Regions from separate parts of the Homo sapiens genome. Here region 1 is linked to region 2. The links are contacts of gene promoters, found by promoter capture Hi-C in human tissues and cell types (Jung and others, 2019). All regions are on one chromosome and are shown on one strand. The core of a region is centred on a gene start or on the middle of the fragment in contact, and the rest is flanking DNA. Distances in the headings are between cores, read along the strand shown.

Region 1 (6,275 bases), core at 2,305-4,804, 1.4 Mb after region 2:
TATTGCCCAGGCTGGAGTGCAGTGGTGCGATCTCGGCTCACTGCAACCTCCACCTCCCGGGTTCAAGTGATTCTCCTCCCTCAGCCTCCCAAGTAGCTGGGACTACCGGCATGTGCCACCGTGCCCAGCTAACTTTTGTATTTTTGATAGAGATGGGGTTTTGCCATGTTGGCCAGGCTGGTCTTGAACTCCTGACCTCAAGTGATCCACCCGCTTCGGCCTCCCAAAGTGCTGGGATTACAGGCATGAGCCACCATACCTGGCCTAAACAAGGCATTTTAACAACCAAGAACAAGTGGCATCTGTGCCTTAGCCATTTTGCTTACATTTCTCCTAGCTGCCTAACGTTCACCAGGTTGCTGCTTGCATCCATGCATTCATTCGTCTATTTATTAAGTGCTAGTGTGCTTCTGAATGTTGCAGTACAAGGGGAGGGAGATATATGGATGACATAGAGCTTTAAAATTAAGAATAAGGCTCTAGGGTCAGACTTCTTATATTCACATGCTGGCTCCACCAGCATGTAAATATAAGAACTATGGGAGCTTGGACAAGTTACCTGACCTCTGTGAGCTTCCATTTCCTGAACTGTGAAAACTAGGGCAATATAACTTATCTCAGGGTTTCAGTGAAAACTAAAGGGATAATACCTAGAAAAGTGGTTAGTTAGCACCAGGACTGGCTATCTAATTTAAAGGGCAAAAGGAAAAGCAGAACTCCTTGTTCAAATATGATTAAGAAGGCAATAGTAGAGCATTAAACCAAGAACAGGGCCCTTCTAAGCATGGGGCCCTGTGTGACTGCACAGGTTGCATGCCTGTGAAGCTGGCCATGGCTGACACAGTGCCTGACATATGGTGAGTGCTTGATAAATGTTAATTATTAATTACCCCCAGCCACTCCTCTGAGAGTTCATCTGTTGGTGAGAAAAGACACTTAACCCCAAAATAACTGCATAAGAAAGAGTATGACAGACACTGAAGACATAGTTGGAGAGTTAGGTGACATTTCAGGATCCACGTTTTAAAAAAGAACACTGAAAAGTAATTTCCTCTTCAGTGGAAAGAACACAGGCTTGTGAGTCAGACATTTCTGATATAGCTAATAATAGCCACTTTTTTTTTTTAATAGATGGGGTCTTGCTATTTGCTTAGGCTGGAGTGCAGTGGCAATTCACAGGCGTGATCATAGTGCACTACAGTCTCAAACTCCTGGGCTCAAGCGGTCCTCCTGCCTCAGCCTCCTGAGTAGCTGGGACTACAGGCGAGTACCACCATGCCTGGCTAATGAGAGCCACTATTGACTGAGCATTTCTTATTTCTCAGACACTATGCAAGATGCCTACTATATATTATCTTATTAAATCTTCCCAACAATCTTGGGAGAAAAGTAACAATTGTTAGTCCCATTTCACAGATAAGGAAAACAAGAATCAGAGCAATCAAGTGACTTTCCCAAGGTCACCCAGCTGGTCATTAGAGGCATGGCTCAAACCTAGCCCTATCTGGATCTGGGCTTATAACCCCTAAGTCCTACGCTCTGCCACTAATCAGTGGGTGATTACTGGTCAGGTTATTTTTCCTGCTGTGGTCTCCAGCTACCTCAGAGGGTGATAAAGTTTGAGTGAGGCTAAAGTCTGTAAAACCTTAGGTGGGTTAAAATATGTAACCCCTATAGCAAAGTGGCCACGGTTATTCTGGGATTTTCCTTCTTTCCTCTTGAGCTAAGCACTGGCACTTAAGAGTTAAGTGGTTTTATCTTTATTGGAAGGAAATGTGTTAAAGACAGACTCACTACAGTGTTGAGACAGTAGTGAGTAGCACAGTAAGGAGACTGCCCAGGACTTGAGGTCCTTGGTCCCTCTATAGAAGTATCAAGTGTTTGTAAAAGGTTTAGCACCCATGTGACAGAAAGAAGCCATCATCCTCTTAATTTCTCTTGGTTTTACTTAATATATAGAAGGGCAAACTAGTGGGCCTCTGAGTGCAAGATGAGGACTTCATTAGAATAAAGACATATTGCCTCCTGGATTTCTAACCCATAGCTCCAAGAGCCTCAGTGTCAGAACATAGGTAAGGGACTTGATTTACTGAGAGACCCTACCCTACAACATCCTGTGGACATTAGAGCTCTGTGCTCCTGTCACTGAGTATCACTGTGAGCTTAAAATATGTCAGCTGCTCCATTTCTCTTTCCTTTTGTGTATTCAGAGCTCTGATTTTAAAACACTGAAATCTGGAAGATTCCAGTAGCTGCACTCTGTCTAAAGCATATGAGGAATGACTGTAGAATTTGCATGTCCTCTATAGCTTTTGTTCACATGTATGCAGGCAGGGATAATGTTATTGATTGTTCAACCTATTTACCTTGACCAGGGGTTGTTAGTAATGCCCAATATGAATCAAGTTGGCACAAGTGTGATCAGATGATCAGGTCTTGTCTCTTTACACTGCACCACCAATGCTTCAGCACTGCCTCCCTTTGCCTTAAGGACTGGGAGTGCGATGCTGTGAATGGGATGGAAGGGGTTATTCACATGTGCTTTCATTACTTCTTCCCTTCCTCAGAAGGGAAGGCAAAGACATCTATAAAACCTTTACAGCTGTGCAGACTTCTGTATCCCTCCATCCTCATTTCCACCCTTTGTAAAGTCATAAGGATGCTCTCCATTTCCCTCTTCCCTTCTACTTGTTCCCTCCCCATATCCCCTAAAATCATGCAGACAATAAAGGCTGGTATTTTGGGTGCCCTGGAGAACGAGGGCTACTTCCTAGTCTTCTCTTGGTGTCTCCTTGTGAAAAAAGCATTTCTTCCTCAGGTGGACAAGCTGGTATTTCCTTTGGAATGAAATCCTCATCCTCTTCCTAGGTCTTCTTCATTTCCCATTCCTGAAGCACAGAAAGAGAAGACAAATCAATTTGCTGAATGGTCTAGTGTGACATGGATAAAGAGATTTCACGGCACCTAGTTAGATGAAGATCTCCACTAGCCAGGTTGCGTTGGGTTCTAACCCCCTCTCTCTCTTTCTGTGGCCCTGAGTAAGTCACTTCTCCATGCTGGTATCTCTTGTCCCTTCATCCATTCTCAACATAGTTGCCTGAATGGTCTTTAAAAAATGTAATTTATATCCAAAACCCTTTGCTCAAAACCTTCCATCATGTCACAACAAGATCCATTATGTTAGAACAAGATCCATGGTTCCTCAGTGGCCTGAAAGGCTTTAGATGAAAGGCTGGTAAATGATAGTCTGTGGGCCAAGTCTGGCCTATTGTCCATTCTCATATAATCCATCAGCTCCTATTTCTAAATGTTTGGAAAAAAAAATCAAAAGAAGACGACTATCTCATGACACATGAAAATGATACGAAATTCAAATTTCAGTGCCTGTAAATAAGTTTTATTGGGCTAGGTGCCGTGGCTCATGCCTGTAATCCCAGCACTTTGGGAGGCCGAGGTGGGCGGATCACGAGGTCAGGAGTTCGAGACCAACCTGACCAACATGGTGAAACCCCCCGTCTCTACTAAAAATACAAAAAAATTAGCCGAGTGTGGTGTTGTGCACCTGTAATCCCAGCTACACAGGAGGCTAAGGCAGGAGAATTGCTTGAACCTGGGAGGTGGAGGTTGCAGTGGTTGCAGTGAGCCAAGATCATACCACTGCACTCCAGCCTGGGTGACAGAGCGAGACTCCGTCTCAAAAAAAAAAAAAAAAAAAAGCTTTATTGGGACACAGCCATTTTCATCATCATTTTCATATTGTCCATGGCTATTTTCATGCGACAATGGCAGAGTTGAGAGGCTGTGGAACAGATCATATGGTTCAGAAAGCCTAAACTATTTACTCTCTGGCCCTTTACAGAAAAAGTTTGCTGACTGCTGCTCTAGATGATCTGGCCCCTCACTGGTTACTTCTCTGATCTCATCTCCTAATGCTCACTCTTTGTTCCTTTCACTGGAATCACCTGGATCTTCTTGATGTTCCTCAAACATGCCAAGCTTTTTCCCACTTCAGGGACTTGACACTTGCTCTTCTCTCTGCCTGGTTCGTCCTTCCCTCAGCCCCCTGCATGGGTTTCTCCCTCACACTCCATTCAGGTCTCTGCCTATGTGTCACCTTCTTGAAAGGGTCTTTGCTATCACTGTGCTTAAGCCCCTTTGGGACGTTCATCTTCTCTGGCATCACATTCTTTATTTATGTGTGGTATTTAAAGTCTTGTCTTCCCAACTCTATGAGACCAGGGACTTTTTTGGGTTCCCTGTTATGTAACCAGAAACTAGAACAAGACTGGCATATGGTAGGTCTTCAACAAATATTTGTTTAATGACTAACTGTAGGAAAGAATAAAGACTCTTCCCTCTTAGGCTCTGAAATTCAATTCCAACCTGAGGATGCAGCTCCAGCCTAGACATAGAGCCATGCTTTTTTTGAGACAGGGTCTCACTTAGTGTCATCTAGGCTGGAGTGCAGTGGTGTGATCAGGGCTCACTGTAGCCTCACCCCTCCCACTGGGCTCAAGTGATCCTCCCACCTCAGCCTATGGAGTAGCTGGGACTATAGGCATGTGCCACCACACCCGGCTAATTTTTTTGTAGTTTTTGTAGACACAGGGTTTCGCCATGTTGCCCAGGCTGATCTCGAACTCCTGGGTTCAAGGATCCTCCCACCTCAGCCACCCAAAGTGCTAGGATTACAGGTGTGAGCCACTGTGCCTGGCCAAGCCATGCATTTTAAAAGTCCGTGCTGGTGTGATCCTAGACAAAATGTTGCCGATTCCCACAGCAGTGTTGATATGAAGCTAATAAACAGCTGTCCTTTAAATGTATTCTAATATGATATGCAATTTCAGCTCATAAATGATCAGGCACTGCCTGCCTCTTCCCCCTTCATGGTTTCCACGCTCGCTTTCCCTCTTTGCTCCAGCTGCTCTGGCCTCCATCTGGCCATCAGGCACGCTTGAGAGCTTTTGCACCTGCTGTCCCCTCTTGCTGGAAAGCTTCTGCTCTAGATCTTCTCATGTTCCTTTCCCATCATTTGGGTCACTGCTAGGAGAGGCCCTCTCTGACCACTGTGTATATTGCTCCAACCCTACTCCCAGTCTCTGTCCCTTTCTATATATATGTATATATATATGTATATATTTGTAGTTGTATCACTTTCTGGAATTATCTTCTTACATTAACAGGGCACTTATGTATTATCTGTCTCCTTTCACTGGCTTGGAAGTTCCTTGAAAACCAGGACCTCATCTGTCTTGTTCACTGGTTTATCTACCACTTAAACTTCAGTCTTCTCCGCTGTGAAATGGGGCTAAGAATGCCCACTTTACTTGGTTATTGCAAAGATGGAATGAAGGAACATGTTCAAGAGTGTTTAGTGAAGTGTCAAGCATTTAGCAGGTGCTTAATATGTGTTTCTTGAATGAACGAAATTGGAGTTTTCCACTACTTTAAATAGGGTGTTCCCCCTTTTATTATGTTTCTAATTTGAACTATTTTTTTGATTTGACATATTGTGAAATGATTATCACAGTCAAGTTTAGTTAACACATCTCACCTCACCTAGTTATCATTTGTGTGTGTGTGTGTGGTGAGAACAGTAAAAAGTGACTTTTTAAAACAAATTTCGAGTATGCAATATGGTATTGTTAACTGTAGCCATGATTCTGTACATTAGATCCCCAGAACTTAGTCTTCTTAAAACTGAAACTTTGTATCCTTTGACCAACATCTCCCCAGTTCCCCCAGCCCTCAGCCTCTGGCAACCACCATTCCATTCTCCCCCTTTTATTTTAAATTAATAAAGATTAATTTTATATTTTCATATTTAAAAAAGAGATTGTTCCTTGAAAACTCATCAGTCTCCACATTTCTTAGCTTGGAATTTAGGTCCTTCTATATCAAACTGTCTTTCCAGTCTCATCTCCTACCAGTTTTTCAGACATTCTGTGCTGCTGCCAGACAGGTCTAGAAAGGCTTCCTGAGCATATCTGATGTGCCTGGCATTTGTTTTTCAGGTCCTGCTATGATTGGAATGTCTGTCCCTCCAAAACTGATGTTGAAATTTAATCCCTAATGTGGCAGTATTGAGAGGTGCAGCCTTTAAGAGGTGATTGGGTCATGAGGGCTCTATCTTCATGAATATGGATTAATCCGTTCATGGATAAAGGCATTAATGAGTTAATGCATTAATGGGTTATCATGGGAGTGGAACTGGTGGCTTTATAAAAAGAGGAAGAGAGACCTGAGCTAACATGTTCAGCCCCCTCACCCTGTGA
Region 2 (6,823 bases), core at 4,280-6,779:
GAGAAAAGATCTATTCCTAAGGCCCACACAGGGCCTGCTGAGGACTGAGGCTGAATTGAATTAGAACAACAGAGAACCCCTTTACTTCTACCCCGCTACCAGCCTACCAAGCAGCTAGTAACAAGCATCCATTTCTAGGGGATGGGCAAAGGCCTAGAAAGTTAGTCACCACTGTGCAGGTAGGCAGGACAGCTGTAAGCTGAGGATGAAGCATGAACACTTGAGTTCTTCAGCCCCAACCTACAGTATAGAATAATGCTAGAGTAGGTGAAATCTGTGGTACATTGAAAGCAACCATAGCAATAAAACCCAAGCCCAGGTCAGGTGCGGTGGCTCAAGCCTGTAATCTCAGCACTTTGGGAGGCTGAGGCAGGTGGATCACCTGAGGTCAGGAGTTTGAGACCAGCCTGACCAACATGGAGAAACCCCATGTCTACTAAAAATATAAAATTAGTCGGGTGTGGTGTTGCATGCCTGTAATCCCAGCTACTCAGGAGGCTGAAGCTGGAGAATCGCTTGAACCCAGGAGCTGGAGGTTGTGGTGAGCCAAGATCGCACTATTGCACTCCAGTGTAGGCAACAAAAGCAAAACTCCATCTCAAAAACAAAAACAAAAAACAAAAAAAAAACCCAAGCCCCGCTTGATTCCTAACCAGATTGACCAAACCCCATGCAGACGGTCTAACAGAACACACTTGCCCATTTCCGAGCATTAATATGATTTACCTCATTCTCTTCTGTTATATAAGCAATGACTTGGCCGGGCACGGTGGCTCACGCCTGTAATCCCAGCACGTTGGGAGGCCAAAGCAGGCAGATCACTTGAAGCCAAGAGTTCAAGACCAGCCTGGCCAACATGGTGAAACCCCACCTCTACTTAAAGTACAAAAATTAGCCAGGTGTAGTGGTGCAGGCCTGTCGTCCCAGCTACTCAAACCCAGATGTTTGAACTAATGGACAGAGACTTTAACATGTTGTTGGGGCTCAGAAAATGATACCCCAAATTAAGGCTCTGAAGCAGCCTCAGAAGCAAAAGTTTCTCTCTGACCTTCTGCCTTCCTGTCTCTGGCCCTTCATTCTTCCCCAAGCCTAGCCACAGACACTGAATCCCTTTTCCTCAAGGTGGGTCATAGAGAGAACCCCTTTTCCCCAAAGCCAGCCATAAAATGTAAAATACTACTCTAGGCCGGGCGCGGTGGCTCACACCTGTAATCCCAGCACTTTGGGAGGCAGAGGCAGGTGGATCACAAAGTCAGGAGTTCGAGACCAGCCTGACCAACATGATGAAACCCTGTCTCTACTGAAAATACAAAAATTAGCCAGGCATGGTGGTGCGTGCCTGTAATCCCCGCTACTCAGGAGGCTGAGGCAGGAGAATTACTTGAACTTGGGAGGTGGAGGTTGCAGTGAGCCGAGATCGCACCATTGCACTCCAGCCTGGGCGACAGAGCAAGACTCTGTCTCAAAAAAAAAAAAAAAAAAAAAAACTACTCTAACTTCCGCCTTGCTTTTGTGTAAAAACTGGCTCTGAATAAATTATCTGAGCTACTTTGTTTTAGATTGTAGGTCATAAGACCCCCATTCCAAAGACGGTCCTGTACATACCCAGAAGGAAGGAATGCTGCCGAGAGAGGCCAAGAATCTAGACAGACAGGCCTCGCTGGGTTTCCCCACTCAGTCTATTAGCGCTAAATCAGTACGCTTTTTGTCCAATCCTATTTCTACATAGCTGTCCATACTTTGTTGAACCTAGGCATATAAATGGACAATTTCCCATCTGTGTCTTCATTCTGAAGGCTCCTATGTCAGGTAAAACTATGATCAAATAAATTTGTATGTCTTTTCTCCTATTAATCTGCCTTTTGCTAGTTAATTTTCAGTGAATCTTAAGAGGGCAAAGGGGAACTTTTCTGTTGGCCCCTACAATGTTAAAAAATCTGGTGGAAAACATGGAGCCAGGTGCCATGGCTCACACTTGTAATCCCAGCACTTTGGGAGGCCAAGGCTGGAGAATCACTTGAGCCCAGGAGTTCCGAGACCAGCTTGGGCAACATGGTGAGACCCTGTCTCTACAAAAAAGTTAAAAATTAGCTGGGCACCGTGGCCTGCTTCTATAGTCACAGCTACTTGGGAGGCTAAGGCTGGAGGATCCCTTGAACCCAAGAATTCCAGGTAACAGTGAGCTATGATCATGCCTGGGTGACAAAGTGAGACCCCCATCTCGAAAAAAAAGAAAAGGAAAATATGGATTATATATATTGTGAAAGGAAATTAAATCTTGGGACCCCAAACTCATTAAGCCAAAGGGAAAAGTCGAGCTGGGAACTGGGTCACACAAACCTGCCTCCTGCTTTTGGTTCCTAAATAAGATGGCTATAAGATGAAAAGCTACATGCCTCCCCCATATGTTGCCCAGTAATTCAGACCCTTCCATTAAACCAGCAAACCTTTTTCATTTACAATCTCATTGGACATGTTTGGTATTCCAGTGCTATGATCACTTAGCTTCAATCTTTGTACCACAGATAGGTATCGAAGATGTTATATGGCATATAGAGGCCATAACGAATTACACCCAAAGGCCCTAAATGGTAGCTGCATGAGTACCTCTTTGCTAAGCAATGAGGTCATGCTTATGAGGAAAGCTGTGTTGCAAAACTATGTGGCTTTAGATATACTCATGGCAGCACAAGGGGAACCTGTGCCACCGTAAAAACTGAATGTTGTGTGTATATTCCAGATGAATCAAAGAACATAAACTGAATTATGACCAGTATGAAAACCCAGATAAGCAACTGTCAGATCCAAAACCCTCACTAATCCATTGCTTGAGTGGTTGGTTTGGATCCTGGGGAATTTAGTGGCAGAAGCTATTGCTTATAATAGAAGGAATAATTTATGTTCTGTCCTGTTTCTGCTTACAATGTTGTTATAGTACGTGTTTGCAAATAAGTCAATATGCAACCGAAAGGGCTAAGGTAATGATTGCCCAGAGAATTGCTTTAATTGAGGAGGCAGTAATATAATAAAGCTTGACCCAGCTTCCAGGTTTGCTTTCCTTTTGTTGCTATAAATCTGGCCTAGTCCCTATATATATTTTTTCATCTCTTTTCTTTTTTCCTTTCTAGGAAAGTAAAATTCCTCACTAGGAATTTCCTTGTGGGCAAAATATGGGGGAGGCATGTAGCTTTCCATCTTGTAGCCATCTTATTTAGGAACCAAAAGCGGGAGGCAGGTTTGTGTGACCCACTTCCCAGCTTGACTTTTCCCTTTGGCTTAATGAGTCTGGGGTCCCAAGATTTAATTTCCTTTCACATTTCCCCCTTTTTTTCTTTAACATCTTTTGGAGAAAGCATTTTAAAAGGAATATGTGTTCCTGGCCTCAGTTCGCTTTTTCCTCCTTTTTTGAGCTGGTTTCTTGTCGCTAGGATGGTTTATTCCAGGAAATTCAGGTCTCACGTTACTAGGAAGGCTCATTCCTAGGAAGTCATGTTCCATGTTGCTAGGAAGGCTCATTCCTAGAAGTCATGTCCCACAAAGATTAAAAAATAAATTGGGGGAGGAAAGAGGGAAAAAGGAAGGAAAGGAGATGATTCTGAGGGCTCCAGACTTAAAGGAGAAAAGGGTCCTATCTCTTTTCTCTTAATGTTAAATGTTATTTTGTTTGTGGAATGTTCACTCTATAATATATATGTTGATTAAGTATACCATTATGCATGATTTGCAATATTGATTGACCTGTGGAGTGCCTTGAGCCTGTGTGTCCAAGACTCTGAGTGCTGAGTGAGTGGGAAGTACTAAGGAGAATTGCTTTCTTGGAAACTCCATGTAGTTCGTGGCTTTTGTGATTGAAATAGCATCAGTAAAAGTCTGGCATTGTGGAAAAACACAAATGTACGTGGACTCTGTTATTTCTGACCTTGCACTCCTCACAAGGCATGTGAAATTGGAGTCACAGATGTAGAAACCAGGCAGAAGACAGTCTGAAGAGATGATACTTGAGAATTTTCCAAATATAATAAAAGACAACAAATCACAGATCCAAGAAGCTCAGATAAACCCAAGGACTTTCTTATAAAGGAAAAGATATACTTACCATATGATCAAATAATCTCACTCTAAGGCATTTACACAAGCAAAATGAAAACCAATGTCCATACAACGATCTGTATGTGAATGTTTATAATGGTTTTATTTATATTCACTAAAATCTGGGAACAACCCAAATATCCAGCAACTGGCAAGTGAATTGTATGATATATCCATACAATGGAATTCTACTCAGTAATACAAAGGAAGAAATTATTGATACATGTAATAATATGGATGAATCTCAACTACAAAATACTAAGTGAAAAAATATCAGATCCAAAAGGATATATAGGATTCCACTTATGTGACATTCTGGAAAAGGCAAAACTAGGGACAGAACACAAATTAGTGATTGCCATGGTTTGAGTATGGGATAAGTGGACTAACTACAGAAACAAGGGAACTTTGGGGATGACAGACAATTCCATATTTGACTGTAAGTGAATGTATGTACAAAATTCAAAACTAAAAAGGATAAAACTTTATGTAAATTATACTTTAAATCAACTTTTTTTTTTAATGAGGTGATTTAAATAAATGTGTTAGGTAGCTTGATGACACGGTAAGTATGAAAGTGGTACCAGAATGGCTTGAAACTCATAAAATATTGGCAGAGTGGTTATGAGTTATTCCAAAAATCAAATAATGCATATGTTGATTCGTAAGACCCTTGTCATTTCAGAAGCTGGAAATGAAACAGTACTAATGAATTTGTGGCTTCACCACTTTTTAGCTCCACAACCAGGAGCTATATCAGGAGAGATTAGGTTAATCTCTCTAAACCTGTTTTCTTTTCTATAAAAGAGGGATCATCATACTTGCCTACAGGGTAGAGTTACCAGATAAAATACAGGACGATTGGTTAAGTGATGTGAATTTCAGGTCAACCACGAATCCTACTTTAGGACGAGTAGGTACCATATATATTTATAATTAAAAAGCGATTCGCCGTTAATCTGAAATTCAACTTTAGACGTTCTGTAATTCGTGCGTGTGTGTGTGTGCATGTGTGTGTGTGAGTGACAGAGAGAGAGAGAGAGAGAGAGAGAGAGAGAGAGAGACAGAATCAGAATCTGGCAGCCCTACAGAGAGCCCTACAGAGAGGTTATGCGAATAAATAAGACACTGGAACCGCAAGACGTTCGCCCAGAGTTTGGCATAATAAGCGCCTCAGTGGTAGCGAACGCTATTTTAACCCCAGCCTCTGATGCATTACGTCTTCCTTTATTCTTTCGCCCAATTGTTAAATGAATCAACTGTACGTGTGGCCCTTCATTCCAAGCAGGCAAAAACTCGAAGGAAGCATCCAGGTGCATTATACCAGGACCCCAATTGTTAAGCTTAGAAATTCCAAGAGCGGGCGACGTCATGACGCAAAGGCCCCGCCCCGGAAGAAGCCCTAGACGCGTAAATAAGACGCCGACCGGCGCGGCGCTAGCCTCGGGGCTTGACGGGATTGTGGCGGTCCTCTCTCCCAATTCGGAAGCTACAGCTACCTCCGGACGCTCTCAAGATGGCGACCTCTCTGGGTTCCAACACCTACAACAGGCAGAACTGGGAGGATGCGGTGAGTGTGCCTGCCGGAGGAGGATGGAAGGAGGAGGCGAAGCCGCGCACCTTGCAAGCTGGCAGGACAGGGCCTGCGGCGCGGCCGAAGGAATACCGGGGAGGAGCCAGCGCGGCGGCCTAGCTTGGCCGGAGCAGGAGGGCGGAGGGCGATCCTCCTGCGGGCTTGAAGGGAGGGGGCTTAGCCAGGGTCCCGGGACCAGCACCCTTTCCATCCCTGCCCCCTCCAGCCTATTAGAGCTGGTTTTCTTTTCTCCCGCCGCCTGCCGGAAGTGCAGACAGCGCCCCCTCCCGCGATCGGGTCGTGATGGACTTCGGGTTCCTGCCGTGCCTAGTTCCCCACCCTCGCTTCCCGCCCCCTCGCCACCCCAAGTGTCACTGAGGTGTCAGGGTCTTCGGAGGGTGGTCCTCAACCAGATTTCCCATTTTCACCAGGACTTCCCCATTCTGTGCCAGACATGTCTTGGAGAAAACCCATATATCCGAATGGTGAGTGATCGCGTGTGAAACGAGTTATTCATGTCCTGTCGATGTTGTGGTACTTGCACACTGTGAAGTGTTTCTCTTAGACAAGCAGAAAAAATGATGCTCTTTTACTAACGCGAAGTGCTGGACGACTTGCAAAGAACTGTCATGTGTATTCTCTTACGAATCCGGTAACACTCCTGTAATGTAGGGGTAATAACGATAGCTAGTATTTGTTGAGCATTTACCTAGGAAATAGGTCTGTTGACCAGAAGGTGAGAGCGTTTGTGTCTTTTCATACAATAGTAAGGAATGGAGCTGGGATTTAAGTTCACATATTCTGGCTCTAGGAATGTCAGCATGATAGGAGGAGAACCAGAACTAGAAACTAGGTTTCCTGAATCCTGGTCAAATGCCTTTTGGCCAGTGTACTTTATCTCTTTAAAGTAAGCATTCCCCCTTTGTTACAAACTAGGGTAAAATTAGAACCAGTTAACAATAATAAGGTTAGGGCTGTATTATTGTGTAGTCGTAGAGGTGTTGATATGTTAGTATGTTCACGATGTTTGAATGGTTCAAGATGTTTGAATAGTTCTGTTTAAACAGAACATTTACTATATTCCGGGCATTGGCACAGGACAAGTCTACAGTAGCTACCTTTTGACTAAACTTTGTAAAGTGGGCGGGCCACAGCTGTATC

The links. Contacts are between HindIII fragments. The study calls those that stand out against the background at their distance.
Region 1: a fragment that was not itself captured here is called in contact with the fragment with the promoter of RBM22 in region 2 in 1 of the 25 tissues and cell types used here (pancreas).

What each region holds. Positions count from the first base shown.
Region 1 is chr5:149,336,620-149,342,894 of GRCh38, reverse strand. It overlaps AFAP1L1 (actin filament associated protein 1 like 1), which reads right to left. Exons shown (of 19, transcript NM_152406.4): 19 at 1-2,888. The coding sequence ends at 2,865. Among named protein-coding and RNA genes, the nearest start is that of GRPEL2, 5.7 kb to the left of the region's middle. The HindIII fragment of the contact is 4,849 bases long and covers 1,130-5,978 here.
Region 2 is chr5:150,699,768-150,706,590 of GRCh38, reverse strand. It overlaps RBM22 (RNA binding motif protein 22), which reads left to right and starts at 5,529. Exons shown (of 11, transcript NM_018047.3): 1 at 5,529-5,659; 2 at 6,094-6,147. The coding sequence starts at 5,606. RefSeq lists enhancers at 4,734-5,510, 5,511-6,287. The HindIII fragment of the contact is 5,081 bases long and covers 4,233-6,823 here.